2 separate regions of the Homo sapiens genome follow, and region 2 is linked to region 1. Evidence: promoter capture Hi-C in human tissues and cell types (Jung and others, 2019). All regions are on one chromosome and are shown on one strand. Each heading gives the region's core, a stretch centred on a gene start or on the middle of the fragment in contact. The rest is flanking DNA. Distances are from core to core; before and after follow the strand shown.

Region 1 (4,173 bases), core at 1,246-3,745:
TTTTACCAGGACTCATAACTTAGCTTTCAAGTAGAAAGCCTTTATTTTTCTTCTTTCAGTAAAAAAAAAAAAAAAAATATATATATATATATATATATCATGCCAAGTTGTTTTTGTTGATGGAATAACATATATTATTTTATTCAAATACTGCTGTTATAAAATTATATTCCAAATTACCTTTTAAAATATATGGGGATTTGGCCACATGTTGCCCTTGGAATTTAATTTCCACCTTCAGATTTTTGTAGCTTGCATACATTCTGTATCTTACTATGAAGGACCCATCTTTTCGGTCTAAAACCTGGACTCCAACTCTAGTGAATTGCTCCTCTGGTGCTGAGACTTTCACCTGGAAGACCTTTTCGCCTGGAGAAGATGTGAATCTGTGATGAAAAGGCAATGGGGGAGATAAACAGATTTTAACGAACAAACACACAAAGGTTATGCTCTTCAGTCTGGAAACTTGATTATTCTCCTCCACATTCTTCCTCTAACATATGATTGCTTCTTCTTCTCTTATGCTTTTAGTACCAGAATGAATATGATGGATCAGAGATTTAAAAAAATGAGGATGACAATGGCCAAGATAACATGAAACAGTTTCATTAAACAGTCACAATGGAGTATGTTAAGACTATTAATCTATATAAGCACAGAACATACTCATGCATTCCATATGGAAAAATATTCTTACTAACTTATTTCATGCTATCACATCTGGATATTTGTGATCAAATGATGCTCCCAAAGATAATGATCTTATTTTGAAAAATCTCTGCCAATGAATCTTTACAATATCAGTATTATAAATCACGCTCAGGCCTGGCACTGTGGCCCATGCCTACTATCTCAACATCTTGGGAGGCCAAGGAGGGAAGACTGCTTGAGGCCAGGAGTTCGAGATCAGCCTGGGCAACAAGGTGAGATCCTGTCTCTACAAATAATAATAATAATAATAAAAAACAAATAGCCAGGCGAGGTGGCACACGCCTGTAGTCCCAACTACTAGGGAGGCTGAGGTGGGAGGATAGCTTCAGCCTGGGAGGTTGAGGGTACAGTGAGCTGTGATTGCACCACTGCACTCCAGACTAGGCTAGGAAGTGAAACCCTGTCTTAAAAAAAAAAAACTCACGCTCAGCCATGGGCAAAAGCAAAGTAGTAGGTAGTGTATCATCTTTTGCCAAATAACAAAATTTACAACCTGCCTTTTACTTGACAACCTTTTATTCCAGTATTTTTTTCTGTATGAAATACACACAGTCAGCATCCACCAATAATAGAGACAATCATTTCAGAAGTATAGGAATTATAAAAATAAGTTTTAAGTATGATGTTAAAGTATTAAATTCATTGGAACAAAATATTTGTTACAATCATATAGGAGATTAATACTTCGATACTTTCCTTCCGAACTCTGAAGTTTCAAATAGTACTTCATTTTTCTTTTTCAGTTTCAAAACATGCTTACCTGCAGATGTCTCCTTGAAAATTGAGGGCCGCACCAGAGAAAGATGAAGCCCATCAAGTCTCTAACAACTAGGTTTAAATCCCTTATAATAGCTTATGCGAAAAGTAGTTAGAAACAGTATTTCCAGCAAAGTGGAGGGACTTTGTCTTGCCCTGATAATGTGGGAATCTGAATCAAAATTGCTAGGAGATTATTTTATATGTTATATACAATACATTATATTGCATATATTATAATTCGGAACAATTTCTACAGCTACAGAGAAAAATGGGTAACCAAATATCCTGGAATATAAACTGCTGTGGAGAAACGAGTTCTTGGAAAGAAAAATCTTAAAGGGAGAAACAGATTTAACCGCCATCCAAAATAGGTAAGGAGCCGTTTCTCGACTTACTTATTCCCTGATGTATCCACTGCCTGAATATAGAAATAGCGGGCGGGAAGGACGACGTCTGCTTTTAGCCCGGGTCCCCATATTTCGCTCTTCTCCGGGCTCAGCTGCCTTTCTCCGCCGGTCTCGGCGAGTGCTGGAACTGTCGCCAGAAAGAAGCAATAAAGTAGCAAAGTGCCAAACATTTACAAGACGGACTCTCGAAATGATCCACCGATAAATGAAGAAGTGTAAGAGGTGGACAGAAGCAGCCGAGCCTTCGGCAGGGACCCGCCGGCCGATCGCAGCAGCCAACGCGACTGCAAAGGTTGCCGCCCGGCGTGCAGGGCAGGCGCGCGGGTCTCCGCGACCCCAGGACAATCAAAGCCCGTGCCCCGGCGCGCCCAGGTGAGGGTCCCCTGGCGTTCTGCTGTCCCGGCCGAGAACCGCGCTGCTCCTCTCTCTCAGGACAATGATGAACTTGAGTTGCTCCTGCCACTGGAGCATCATTTGGGAGCGAATCCGTCTCAGGTTCCAGCCAAGGTGTAGGGCGAGGGGATTGGCCCGTGCGTCGGGCCAGGCTCAGTAACGCCTTCTCCAAGTGGATGGCGGGGTGGACACGCGTCCCGGCGCCCCGGGCTCCCTGGGATATGTAGTTCGCGACAGGACGAGCGGAAATACTGCCAGGATTTTACCACCTCTCGCCCATTTATTTACTTCTCGGTCACCGCTTTCGGGGGACAGATAAACACCACAGATGCCCATCAAAGGGGCGCACGGGTCTGGAGGCGCAGCTCAGGTTTTTGCGTTGGTCACCCTGCCCTCCGCACGTGGAGAGGGCAGGCATAAAGCACCTTGAAAGGAAGGTGCTGTCAATGCTATCCGACGACCTGTCGCCGGGCACCGCAGCATCCTCGCTCGCTCCGATGGGACGAGGGACGCCGGCCCCAGGGTAACAGGAGGCGCCTCGCCGGCCGCGCGCTGGATGCTGTGATCCAGGTCCGGAGCCGGGTTCCGCCGCGGCCGCAGCGACCCGACCCCACCCGACAGGCCAGAGGTACCCCGGGGCGGGGGGCAGGGGCCGAGGTGGCGGCCGGCTGTGCGCTCTGAGCGCCTGGCCCTCCGCTGGGCACCTGGGCGCCGCCAGCCCGGCCTGCTGCCGCTCTACGCGCAGCCACCTGGGCATTCAAAATTTTTACTTAATTCGATACCGGCCTGGGCTGCCAGGGGTCATCGCCTCTCCGAGCCCCGTGGCGTCCAGATGGAGGCCACTGCATGGGTGCGCGCTCTCCCGGGAAGGAGTAGGGGGAAGAGCTGTGTCGCGGGGGGAAGAGAAGCGCCAGGGAAAGAAGGGCCTAGCCCTCTGGTGAACAAAGCTCGATTAGGAGGTGTCCATGTGGATACCGGTGACCCCTGTGCGGCCGTCGGTCTCCACGCCACGCTGGGCAGGGTCCGGGAACCAGCGCGCAGCGGCCGTCGCCTTCCCCTGCACGCCAGCACCCGGGTCTGGGCCGCCGCCAGGAGTCACGGGCTCACCGCCCTGGTCAGCTTGGCAGTCGGACCCGGAGCCGCCTCCTCTGCCTGCCTCCCTCTTGCCAGCTGCCCCGAAAACCCAGAAGAGCCGGTGGCTCCGAGCCAAGGCGGGCCTGGTTCGGCGCCAGGAAAGGGGGTTTCTTTCCTATTTTCTTTTGTGCAATTGTCATTATTAATGATACCGACTCGTTTACTCAAACAGTCGAATCGGAGCCCCAGCTCTTAGCCCGGATGCAGCAATTGCCCGTGGGCCCCCTTTAACACCAACAGCGTCCCCGGGGCCCGGGGCAAGCATGTTCGAGGCGGTCACCCCCGGGCCTCGGCGCGCTCCCCCTGGCGGAGAGCCTCGTCTTCCGGCCGGTGAGGGAAGGTAGAGGAGGGAGTAGGGGCGAGGAGGCCTCGGCGGCCCTTGGGCTCTGCGGGCTGGGGACTCGGGGTGCCCGCGACACGCGCGGAGGCGCGGGCTGGGTTGGCCACGGGCAGGGAGCGCAGCCGCGCTCCTTCCTCTCTGCCCGCGTCGCCTCCGCGCGCACTGGTTCTGCGCGGCGGGGCTTGGCCTGCGCGACTGTCTACTCCGTCCCGGCGGCCTCGGAGCCCGGCCGAGCGGCGAGCTTGTCAGAGGACGGTGGTGGAAACGCTCCCGGCCTCCCCAGGGGCGCGGGCTGGAGGCTGGCGCCAGGCGCGGAGGACTCCCGGTATCTTTTGACAGGCTGGCGCCTCGGCTCTGGGGACCCGCAGGTCTGAAGGGGAGGAAGGGGCCTGGAGGGCGCGGGAGGACACCGGGTGGGAAGGGTGGCAT
Region 2 (4,173 bases), core at 902-3,401, 1.4 Mb before region 1:
TTTTTTGAGACGGAGTCTCGCTCCGTCGCCCAGGCTGGAGCGCAGTGACGCGATCTCGGCTCACTGCAAGCTCCGCCTCCCGGTTTCACGCCATTCTCCTGCCTCAGCCTCGGAGTAGCTGGAACTACAGGCGACCGCCACCATGCCCGGCTAATTTTTTGTATTTTTAGTAAAGACGGGGTTTCACCGTGTTAGCCAGGGTGGTCTCGATCTCCTGACCTCGTGATCCGCCCGCCTCGACCTCCCAAAGTGCTGGGATTACAGGTGTGAGCCACCGCGCCCAGCCACAAACGTTTCTATTTTTGAGAAGTCAGTGCTCAGTCTATATGTTTTTCTATTGATCTATCTTTTTATATGTGTGTATATATATATATTTACTCTTTGTGTTTGTTTTTCTGGAATTTCTCCATGATGGATTTATGTGTGGATGTCTTTTTATCTATTCTAGTTGAGATTTATTAGACTCGGAACTTATGGATTGGTATTAATTATTTCTTCTGCTTGTTCTCTCCTTCTGGGGCTCCAGTTTATGTACATTAGCCCATCACGCTTTATCCTTCATGTCTATGGATCTGTATTTCCTTTGTTCCTTTATTATGTATTCTGAATAGTTCATCTGACCTGTTTTTCAGTTCACTTATACACCTTGCTGCATCTAAAAAGCTATTAAACCAGTCTTTTCAGTTATTAATTTCAAATATTTATTTAGTTTTTGAAATGCTATTTGATTTTTTATGTGGCTAGCTGTTTTTTTATTTCCTACAGATATTTTTAGGTTGCTCTTTATTGACTTATGCTCTAAACATAATACAGTTATTTTATATTATATGTCTGGCAATTTCAAAGTCTAAATATTTTCTGGATCTGTTTTTGCAGTCTAATTTTTTCTGAAGATTCTTCATCATGGTGTCTAATTTTCTCTCTCTGTTGCTTATTTTTTCAACAAGTGGTCTCGAAAAATCTTTTACAAAATTTTTTGAGACTTAAGATGAAAATGGTTTCACTAGGGAGGATTTGTTTTAGCTTTTGTCAGACACCTAAAGACACCAACAGTCCATAGTACAAGGATGACCAAAATTCATGGCATGTGATTTTTTTTATCACCTGTGGGAAGGCATTTTGTCTAAAAATCTGTGCTAGTGCTTGCTCTTAGTTATAAATCCTTGGGGACAATGCTTCCTTATGCTCAGCTTCAAGGCAAATCTTGTCCTCTGTCTTCTCAAGTCTATGGAATCCAATGGAAGATTTATAGCTTTTTCTTTTGCTATAAACAAAAGTTTTATTTAAACTGGATAGGCAAATTCCCTTATGGTAGAAATGCCTTCAACCTCTGCTTATATTCCAGTATTCATTCTTGTTGCCTGCATTTCGCCTGATGATTGCTGACTGTCTTATCAGCTCTTGGATGCTTTTAGGAAGAATTAAAATTTTTAATATTTAGTCTAGCTTTTATAATTATATTTACCAGGAAGCTTAGCTAGAAAATCTAGACCACTTTTTCTCCAGAAACAGAAGTCACTGGACACTTCTTTGAATCTTTCACAAAATACTTGAGTAGATGTTTTCACCTCCTTGCTGCCACATGAACTATGGGGCATGCTTCTACCTTAGGGCCTTTGCACCTAGCCTTTCCTATAAAGTACTCTTCCCTCAGAAATCTTTTGAGCTCACTTGATCCTTCACTTGTTTGGGCTGTTTTTCAATTTTTATTTCAGAATTGGGGAACATGTGAGGGTTTGTTACAAAGGTATATTGCATGATGCTGAGGTTTGGAGTACAAATGTATCTGCCACCAAGGTAGTGAGTATAGCACTCTATAGGTAGTTTTGTTTTGTTTTGTTTTGAGACTGAGCCTCACTCTGTTACCCAGGCTGGAGTGCAGTGGCGCGATCTCAGCTCACTGCATCCTCCACCTCCCGGATTCAAGCAATTCTCGTGCCTCAGGCTCCCAAGTAGCTGGAACACAGGCGTGGGCCACCATGCCTGGCTAATTTTTGTATCTTTAGTAGAGATGGGATTTCACTATGTTGGCCAGGCTGGTCTTGAACTCCTGATCTCAGGTGTTCCACCCACCTCAGCCTCCCAAAGTACAGGGATTACAGATGTGAGCCACTGTGCTCAGCCTCTACAAGTAGTTTTTTCCAACCCTTATCCCCCTCCCTCCCTCCCTCCTCCCTCTTGTATTCCCCAGTGTCTATTGTTCCCATCTTTATGTCCGTGTGTACCCAATGTTTAGCTCCCACTTGTAAGTGTGAACATGCAGTTTTCTGTTTTGGTTTCTTGTTTCTGCATTAGTTCACTTAAGTCCTTCGCTTCCTGTATATTAACTTCCCAGTCAAACCTTCACTGTCTACCCCATCTAAAATGCCATCACCCCAATCCATATTTCTTATTTTTTCATTTAAAACAATCTTTACTCCTTAGTTCTTTTAGATACCCAACATTCTCTATATTTTACTTATCTTGCCCATTGTCCACACCACTGAAATAGAAGGTTCATCAGGGCAGGGGTTTTGTTTGTTTCACCCATTTGCTCTATCCTTAACACCTAGAACAGTGCTTAGCACATACTAGGCATTTAAAAATATGTATTGAATGAATAATGGAACAACTGCAGTCTTGGATCCTGTCTTTTAAGGACATAGACTAGTGTTTTAGAAATGCAGGACTGATGTAGCACAATTGAATTATTATGGAAATGTTGGAATAGCAAATTAGAATTACAGCTAAAAATAAATAAATTGCTAAACTTTGGGTCTGGCAAATAAGGGCATCTGTCAATAGTTTAAACAGGAGAGCAACCAATCATGCAAGTCAGTTGTAGAAGAGAGTGTACCTTGCACTGGAAGAAGAAAGCATAAACAGTACAAAGCATATTATTTCAGAGGATTTGTTCTCTACTCCCATAGTTTTACTTTTTAAAATTTAAAATATATGCTCTTTGAGAGTAGGGATTTCTGTCAGTTTAGTTCACTGCTATATTCTCTCCCTCAAAAGAGATCTTGTATATGCTGTGTGCAATAGTTACTTTTTGAATATGTGATATTATGAATATTGACATTGACATTATTGTTGAGTAAATTAAATTATACATATGATTATGACATGAATATAGCCATAGCTTACTCAGCAAGTCTTTTAGTGAGATGGTCAATAGAAACCCATGATTCAACTGGATATCTTGATAGGCCACCTGGAATTAAGTCTTCAATGAACAATGTTTATAGAAAAGCGGATTTTGGTGTCAAAGCAAAAGCTACTGCAGAAATAAGCATCTCTTTTGTACATAAGTCTCTGCCTATCTACCAGGGTAGTTTAGAGGTATTGCCTATAAGTCACTTGTAGCAAAAGGTATGCTCTGTGCATATATAGATGGAGCCACTAGTAGTCCAGCCTTTCTGTGAAGAAAACAGCACCCTCTATTATGGGGTGACTCAACACATATCAGGGATTATGGCTTGGAGAAAATATAGCAAGGCCTGGATTTCAGCCCCATGCATTCCCTCAGCCAGGTGTCTGTGCAAAGCATGACTTGCACAATCCGATATAGTGAGCTCATGTGTGGATGGCTTTCCAGAATGTTAGTTTGCATGTCTACTAGCGGTGCACCGTGAGCCTGCCTCACCCATCCTCTTCAGTGTTATAGTCTATAGTCTTTCCAGTTGAAATGATGAAAAATCATATCTCATTGTTTTGTTATTTTACCTTTTCTTGCTTACCTGGTGAGTTTGACTTTTGAACTACGTTTTTATGTATTTCTTGTTTTTATGACCTTTTTCTACAATTTGCTTATTTTGTTGGAAAACTAACATTTTATTATCAATTTATAAAATTTGATAAGATATATGTTGCTATATATATGTGTGAATGTGTACGCATTTATACATATACACAAATTATGTATATGAAGACATATATGTTGCTATTATTTTGCCAAGCTTATTATAATACATAGAAGAATATACTTTTTCTCTTCAGTGGTTCTAACAGTTGTAGACTTTTAGTGAAAAACTGTGTTCAAAGTCTTAAATTAGGAATTGTTAATAATTTTTTTCATAAATTTTATAAATATTTCTCCCATTTAGTATAGGTTTTACTTTTTTTGTGATGTATCAAAAGTTCAGTAAACTCTGTTAGCCTTTTCCTTTGTGGTTTTTCCCTTTGTTTTTATGC

What was found. Contacts are between HindIII fragments. The study calls those that stand out against the background at their distance.
Region 2: a fragment that was not itself captured here is called in contact with the fragment with the promoter of BIVM in region 1 in 1 of the 25 tissues and cell types used here (dorsolateral prefrontal cortex).

The regions. Positions count from the first base shown.
Region 1 is chr13:102,796,624-102,800,796 of GRCh38, forward strand. BIVM (basic, immunoglobulin-like variable motif containing) reads left to right here and starts at 2,496. Exons shown (of 11, transcript NM_017693.4): 1 at 2,496-2,898. It overlaps POGLUT2 (protein O-glucosyltransferase 2), which reads right to left and starts at 2,353. Exons shown (of 10, transcript NM_024089.3): 1 at 1,866-2,353; 2 at 181-386. The coding sequence starts at 2,047. RefSeq lists an enhancer at 2,503-2,722 and silencers at 2,783-3,052, 3,613-3,662, 3,693-4,122. The HindIII fragment of the contact is 13,413 bases long and covers 1-4,173 here.
Region 2 is chr13:101,426,474-101,430,646 of GRCh38, forward strand. No RefSeq gene overlaps it. Among named protein-coding and RNA genes, the nearest start is that of NALCN, 12 kb to the left of the region's middle. The HindIII fragment of the contact is 4,586 bases long and covers 1-4,173 here.